3 separate regions of the Homo sapiens genome follow, and regions 1 and 3 are each linked to region 2. The links are contacts of gene promoters, found by promoter capture Hi-C in blood cells and fetal thymus (Javierre and others, 2016). All regions are on one chromosome and are shown on one strand. The core of a region is centred on a gene start or on the middle of the fragment in contact, and the rest is flanking DNA. Distances in the headings are between cores, read along the strand shown.

Region 1 (2,700 bases), core at 45-2,544, 220 kb after region 2:
TTATTGCAGCACCATTTACAATAGCAAAGATGTGGAACCAACCCAAATATCCAACAATGATAGACTGGATGAATAAAATGTGGCACATATACACCATGGAATACTATGCAGCCATAAAAAAGAATGAGTTCATGTCGTTTGCAGGGAGATTGATGAAGCTGGAAGCCATCGTTCTCAGCAAACTAACACAGGAACACAAACCCAAACACTGCATATTCTCACTTATAAGTGGGAGTTTAACAATGAGAACACATGGACACAGGGAGGGGAACATCATACACTGGGGCCTGTTGGAGAGTTGGGGGCAAGGGGAGGGAGAGCATTAGGACAAATACCTAACGCATGCGGGGCTTAAAACCTAAATGACGGGTTGATAGGTGCAGCAAACCACCACGGCACATGTATACCTATGTAACAAACCTGCACATTCTGCACATGTATCCCAGAACTTAAAGTAAAATAAAAAACCAAAAATTAAAAAAAAAAAAACACTTCAATAAAAAAAAGATGTCTGTGAACCAAAAAATGTTAAAGTCCACTGAAGATCTCATGTTGACATGTTATGAGTCTGGATTTTTATCCTGAAGGTTATGTGAAGCTATCTAAAGATTTTAAACAGGGAAATCTTTTATTCAGATGTGAGTTTCAAGTACAATCAGCCTGATTTGGGGTTACAGAAAGGAAAGCTGTGGGTCAGAAAGGAGGGATGCTGACAGCTGTTATGAGGGTCTGCAATGAATAATCAAGGTAAAACAAGAGAAGCGACTGAACTCAGGCAGTGTCAGTAGAAGTGGACAAAAGGAGACTGATTACAAAAATATCTAGGAGGCACAGTCAACAGGATTTTGGGGGAGGTTGGATTCAAGAGAAGAGAAAGAGGACTTGGACCACCGGGTATATCTGAGGGGCCATTCAGTGATACAGAAATGAAGGAAGTGAAGCAAGCCAGGGGAGGGGTCAGTGCAAAGAGGAAAAAAGTTTAATTCAGTCTGTAATATCTGAGTTCAAAATACCAACGAGACAGCCAATAAAAATGTTTATGCAGTAATAACTGGGTGTATGGAACTGGAGCGCAATAAAGAAATGCAAGCTGGAGATCCAGGCTTGGAAGTCATCAACTCATTTAGGCTATACTTGCTGCCAAAGGAGCACATAAGATTGCACAATGAAGAGGAGTAGCATGCAAAGAGATGTATGTCAGGAACCCAGTGAACCCCAGACATATAGGAGGAAAAAGCTGGAAGAAATAACAAAAGAAATCAGAAGAAAACCAACAGAAAATGTTGCCCCAAAACTCTCCTCAACTGGCTTTCAAGAAGAAGGTAGCTATTAGTAAACAATGACAAATCTTATAGCATTTTAGAAGACACAAAAACCTAAGTTTCTTCTCTAAGATTACTGAACATAGCAGAGAGAATGAGTTTCATATATGGTCTTGCTTTATCTATGGAAAGTGGGCCGAAAGTTTTTCTGGGACATGTCCTTTTCTCCTCCAGATGGTAGGCGGGGATTTGTGGCCTGGGTCTCCTTATGGGAAACACCAAGAAGAGGAAGGATAGCACCAGAGATAGTGGGGCAACTGCCCGAGAGCAAGGCAGCACTGGCTCACTATCCCACAGCTATGCCCGCCACCCTTCCTCCGTATAGGAAGGGCCAGATTCTAGAGACAGGCTAAAATGGCTGATAGTTGTTTTGCTTGCTTTTATTCAACTAGGAATAAAAAGAAACCAACATGAGGAGCACTCTTTGCTGAAATTTTCCACTGCATCGCTTTTAACCCTGCCCTTTCTCCTGACTTCAAAAGAGTGTTATGAGGACATGATCCTACAATCTTTTACAACTATCTTGAGTCCGTAGATATAGACATGACATCACTGACATATTGAGGATGACAGAGCTTACAGATGGAAGGAAATTGGGTCTTGTGTATTATTATTGAATGCCTAAAACAAACTGGAACACACTAACTTCTGGACTTTTTGTTACATGAAAAAAGAATCAAGCCATATCATTTAATTCTATTTCAGTCAGCTATTCTGTTACTTGCAGTGGAGCATTCTACCTGCTAACCCAACATACTCAAGGCCTAAGCAATGCTATTTAAACATAAATAGAGTAAACATACCTGCTCTGAACAGAAGCCACAGTGCTACTTCTGGAAAAAAAAATCAGACGGTGCAAAATGTCTAACAAACAGGGCAATTTCATATACTTTCCTATTATAATGCAAATGCCTATTTTGACAAAGGCAGTTGAAGCATACAGCCTGAAGTATCTATCATGGTCAAGTTTAAGATTAATGATTCCAGGAAAGATTTGAGCTGAAACACAACAAACTAATAAGCTCTGCACATATCTGTTGTTGAGCTTCCACAGAAAAAGAACAAAGCGTGTCAGAAGAACAGATTAGAATATACAAACAGACTCCTCCCTGTGCCTTAACTTCAGGTTTGAAGCCAGATTCTTTGGTTTTTAAATTTTAGATGTAGCGTCTTTCAACAATCAACAGTATAAATTTCTATAATAATGTTCTCAGAGATAGCAGCAAATCAGACCATTAGGCCAGAATTAAAATGAACATAGAGGCCAAGCACGGTGTCTCATGCCTGTAATCCCAGCATTTTGGAAGGCCAAGGCAGGAGGATCACTTGAGCCCAGGAGTTTGAGACCAGCCTTAGCAACATAGTGAGACCTTCATCT
Region 2 (2,700 bases), core at 7-2,506:
ACCTGTAACATGAGATTTCAAAGACAGGAGAGAAAACTTGTGTAAAATTATGAAAGAGCTAATGCGATGAGCCCCACTGTCAACATGCCATTAGCTAGAATTTAGTCATAAGGTCCTACCCAATTCCAAAGGTGGATGGAAGACGTTAATTTATCTCAATGCTCAGGAACAATACTTAGTATTGTCTCTGTCACAAAAGGAAAGAGGATACATTCCCAACCTAAGTAACTGAGATTCAGAATTAACCCTGAAATAAGCAGCTACAAACTATAGAGCACTAAAACCAAAAATAATCATAGAAGAAAAGAATATACAAAATTTTGTATAATCTGTTGTTCAGTTAATTTGGAAAGTAACTTTGCTGCCATCTTTCAAACCACCTTAAGCAAAATATTCAGAAACTTCAATAACTAACTAGTATCACCAGTCTTGGCTTGATAAGTAAAGTTACTAGGTATTTGTCGGTTCAACTTACGATACGTTAAACTCTGGAGGTTTAAAAAAAAGTTGCTTAAAAAAAAAAAACAGAATGCAGCTTATTATTTTCCTGAGTTCAGTGTAAGCATAGTTACATTAATGCCGTATGAGTTTAAAATATTGTAAATAAAAAGCACCTTTTTTCAGCTATAACACAAACTCCTCAATAGAGAAATATGGGATATTAGTGCATTAAAATCAACCCCTTTTGAACCCATTCATAATTTATAGCTACCTACATAGTTCTTCCAGCCATACCATGTCTATCTGTATCATTAAATATCCTCTCTGTTTTTCAGGTATTTTAACTGAACCACTACTGGCTGGGTTCTTAATAAAAACAAAAAATTAAGAAGGTAAATAAATTCAGTATCCTAGCCAAAAAGCAGAGTATCTGTTTCAGGAACATAAGACAGTATACTTTCCATTTCATTTTACACACACACATGATGTCTTTTACATAAGAATGAACCTGGCTGCCTGAAGATAGCTTGTTTTGATATCACAGAATGGCCTCTAGGGATCAAGTTGTTTCCCTTGAAAACTTAAAAAGGGAAATTCAGTCTCTTATCCGGCTTGCTTCTCGACTTCAGACTTCAGGAGCTTCTGCATCTGAATCTGTGTCACCCTGCAATTTGTGTCTCTGAAACATAATCCTGTCTCACAGACTCCCATTGCATTGGGATTGGTCAGAAGGAAGCAGAGGAGGAGCCACCGTGAACATGTTTTTTTTCTCTCCACACATCATAAAAATCAGCAGCTGGCGCCTACAGCCCCTAACACTCAAAGCAACGCTCAGGCTGGAAACAGAAGCTTCCGAGAGGCAGCCGATGTGAGCATGTGCGCACAGATTCGTCTCCCAATGGCATGGCAGCTTCAAGGAAAATTATTTTGAACAGACTTGAATGCATAAGATTAAAGTTAAAGCAGAAGTGAGAACAAGAAAGCAAAGAGCAGACTCTTTCAACTGAGAATGAATATTTTGAAGCCCAAGATTTTAAAGTGATGATGATTAGAGTCGTACCTAAAAGAGACTAAAAACTCCATGTCAAGCTCTGGACTTGTGACATTTACTCACAGCAGGCATGGCAATTTTAGCCTCACAACTTTCAGACAGATAAAGACTTGGAGGAAATAACTGAGACGACTCCCTGACCCAGGAGGTTAAATCAATTCAGGGGGACACTGGAATTCTCCTGCCAGCATGGTGAACTCCACCCACCGTGGGATGCACACTTCTCTGCACCTCTGGAACCGCAGCAGTTACAGACTGCACAGCAATGCCAGTGAGTCCCTTGGAAAAGGCTACTCTGATGGAGGGTGCTACGAGCAACTTTTTGTCTCTCCTGAGGTGTTTGTGACTCTGGGTGTCATCAGCTTGTTGGAGAATATCTTAGTGATTGTGGCAATAGCCAAGAACAAGAATCTGCATTCACCCATGTACTTTTTCATCTGCAGCTTGGCTGTGGCTGATATGCTGGTGAGCGTTTCAAATGGATCAGAAACCATTGTCATCACCCTATTAAACAGTACAGATACGGATGCACAGAGTTTCACAGTGAATATTGATAATGTCATTGACTCGGTGATCTGTAGCTCCTTGCTTGCATCCATTTGCAGCCTGCTTTCAATTGCAGTGGACAGGTACTTTACTATCTTCTATGCTCTCCAGTACCATAACATTATGACAGTTAAGCGGGTTGGGATCATCATAAGTTGTATCTGGGCAGCTTGCACGGTTTCAGGCATTTTGTTCATCATTTACTCAGATAGTAGTGCTGTCATCATCTGCCTCATCACCATGTTCTTCACCATGCTGGCTCTCATGGCTTCTCTCTATGTCCACATGTTCCTGATGGCCAGGCTTCACATTAAGAGGATTGCTGTCCTCCCCGGCACTGGTGCCATCCGCCAAGGTGCCAATATGAAGGGAGCGATTACCTTGACCATCCTGATTGGCGTCTTTGTTGTCTGCTGGGCCCCATTCTTCCTCCACTTAATATTCTACATCTCTTGTCCTCAGAATCCATATTGTGTGTGCTTCATGTCTCACTTTAACTTGTATCTCATACTGATCATGTGTAATTCAATCATCGATCCTCTGATTTATGCACTCCGGAGTCAAGAACTGAGGAAAACCTTCAAAGAGATCATCTGTTGCTATCCCCTGGGAGGCCTTTGTGACTTGTCTAGCAGATATTAAATGGGGACAGAGCACGCAAT
Region 3 (2,700 bases), core at 38-2,537, 240 kb after region 2:
ATATTTGAAGGAAGATAAAAGTGGCAAGAAGGAGCCATTCATGTGAGGATTCAGGGAGAGCATTCCCCACCCCCAAGGAAAAAAATGGGACAGCAAGGATGAAAAGCTGAGGGAGGTGTCAAATAAGAAAAAAAATAGCTGCTGATATAGCTGGGAATGGTGAACTAGAAAGTACAAGATTCCAGAGAGGGGGCAGCACCTAGCAGTTTGAGAAACCATGGTCATGAGAGTGGATTCTTACCTAATTGCAGTGGGAGTTCTCAGAGAACTTCATCTCCGGACTCTCAGACTCCTCTCTTCTCTGTTGCCTCTCCCAGCACAGTTTTCCCTTGTAATTTTATGAACCTGTATTCAAGTTGTGCTCTCCTATCTTAATTTTTCTCTTTATATCCTGGGCTCTACTTTGCAAACTGAGTTTAATGACGTTCTGTAGACCCAACTTTTTTTTTTTTTTAAAGACAGAGTCTCGCTCTGTCACCCCAGGCTGGAGTGCAGTGGCACAATCTCGGCTCACTGCAACCTCCACCTCCAGGTTCAAGCGATTCTCCTGCCTCAGCTTCCCCAGTAGCTGGGATTACAGGTGCGCATCACCACACCCAGTTAATTTCTGTATTTTTAGTAGAGACAGGGTTTCACCATGTTGGCCAGCCTGGTCTCGAACTTTTGACCTCAAGTAATCTGCCCGACTCTGCCTCCCAAAGTGCTGGGATTGCACCAGCACTTTGAGCAGTTTGAGAAACCATGGTCATGAGAGTGGATTCTTACCTAATTGCAGTGGGAGTTCTCAGAGAACTTCATCTCCAGACTATCAGACTCCTCTCTTCTCTGGTGCCTCTCCCAGGCACAGTTTTCCCTTTTACTTTTATGAACCTGTATTCAAGTTCATAAGAGAGCCACCGCGCCCAGCCAAGACCCAACATTCTAATTTTCAACATTCCCCAAATTGCTAATTTATTCCCTCCTTTGTTCAACTATGAGCTCTGATACGTAACATATGCATGCACTAAAATAAAAATTTAATAACATTTGTGAAAAATAAACTGAACAAAACACTTAAAATATCTGTTCTTTGGAGTACCATAGTTAATTTTATAAACTTGCTTCATTGTTTATTCAGATCACTGACCCCTCAACAACTTGGTGGAACATTAAATTAACACATTATTGTTCCACCTCCTGGTTGTGCCTCTTTTTCTCCAATGTCAATGCTACAGTGTATGAGGGACCAAATCCACTTTGCATAAGCAGTTAAACTCACAGCCTAACAGGATTTGGAATACCTAATAACTGTGTCTGGGGATTATGTTTTTCTTAAATCTCAGACTTTTGGTTAAGGATTTAGACATATGGTCCCATACAAAGCAATCTGGTACACGAGAACTGTTTTGTCTATCATGAGTCTCAGAAGGGTTATATCACTGGTTTGGATGATACAGGAAAGAAAAGTAAAATTTTAGTTATGCTTCTGAAGCATTAATTCAAGACCCTGCACATCTGCCCACAGTTGACCTTCCTAACTTGTTCTGTAGTGAAGGGTAAGGCACTTTTCTATACTAATTTGTCTGGGCCCATGAGTATCCTTGTATTATGAATGGTTTCCATGAGAATTGAGGGCTTTCTAAAGATAGTCACATGCTGAAAAAAACAACAACTTAGGGCCCTGTGCTATGATGAAGAAGAGATACTTCCCCTTGGATACTGTAAAATAATTTTTAGGAAACCAAAATCTACTCAAATGTTTCAGTAGAAAGTGACTAAAAGTAATTGGATCAAGGTGCATGGTTTTTGTTTTTGTTTTTGTTTTTGTTTTTGTGTTAGGAGGGAACTGGAGTAATTGTTTTTTTTTTTTTTTTTTTATACTTTCAGTTCTAGGGTACATGTGCACAACATGCAGCTTTGTTACATATGTATACATGTGCCATGTTGGTGTGCTGTACCCATTAACTCATCATTTATATTAGGTATTTCTCCTAATGCTATCCCTCCCCGCTCCCACCACCCCATGACAGGCCCTGGTGTGTGAAGTTCCCCACCCTGTGTCCAAGTGTTCTCATTGTTCAATTCCCACCTATAAGTGAGAACATGCGGTGTTTGGTTTTCTGTCCTTGCGATAGTTTGCTCAGAATGATGGTTTCCAGCTTCATCTATGTCCCTACAAAGGACATGAACTCATCCTTTTTTATGGCTGCATAGTATTCCATGATGTATATGTGCCACATTTTCTTAATCCAGTCTATCATTGATGGACATTTGAGTTGGTTCCAACTCTTTGCTATTGTGAATAGTGCAGCAACAAACATACGTGTGCATGTGTCTTTATAGTAGAATGATTTATAATCCTTTGGGTATATATACCCAATAATGGGATGGCTGGGTCAAATGGTATTTCTAGTTCTAGATCCTTGAGGAATCACCACACTGTCAAGCCAAGCACAGAAAGTCAAATATCACATTCTCACTCACATGTGGGAGCTAAAAAAAAAAGTGAATCTCATGAAGATAGAGAGTAGATCAGTGATTACCAGAGCCTGGAAGGGTACTAGGGAGGTGGGATGAGAGGCTGATTAATGGGTACAAATATACTTTTTGATAGAAGAAATAAGAGCTAGTATTAGACAGACAACTAGGGTGACTATAGTTTACAACACTCTATCGTATATTTCAAAATAGCTAGAAAAGAAGCATTCAAATTGTCCTAGC

Evidence for each region. Contacts are between HindIII fragments. The CHiCAGO score rates a contact against its expected background, and 5 or more counts as called.
Region 1: a fragment that was not itself captured here is called in contact with the fragment with the promoter of MC4R in region 2 in 1 of 17 cell types (fetal thymus); the score reaches 5.2 in fetal thymus.
Region 3: a fragment that was not itself captured here is called in contact with the fragment with the promoter of MC4R in region 2 in 1 of 17 cell types (fetal thymus); the score reaches 5.4 in fetal thymus.

Annotation. Positions count from the first base shown.
Region 1 is chr18:60,151,906-60,154,605 of GRCh38, reverse strand. The region is part of intron 2 of LINC03111 (long intergenic non-protein coding RNA 3111); the gene reads right to left. Among named protein-coding and RNA genes, the nearest start is that of LINC03111, 28 kb to the right of the region's middle. The HindIII fragment of the contact is 4,802 bases long and covers 1-2,700 here.
Region 2 is chr18:60,371,331-60,374,030 of GRCh38, reverse strand. It overlaps MC4R (melanocortin 4 receptor), which reads left to right and starts at 1,256. Exons shown (of 1, transcript NM_005912.3): 1 at 1,256-2,700. The coding sequence starts at 1,682. The coding sequence ends at 2,680. The HindIII fragment of the contact is 4,351 bases long and covers 1-1,292 here.
Region 3 is chr18:60,133,614-60,136,313 of GRCh38, reverse strand. All of the region lies in intron 2 of LINC03111 (long intergenic non-protein coding RNA 3111), which reads right to left. Among named protein-coding and RNA genes, the nearest start is that of LINC03111, 9.9 kb to the right of the region's middle. The HindIII fragment of the contact is 9,080 bases long and covers 1-2,700 here.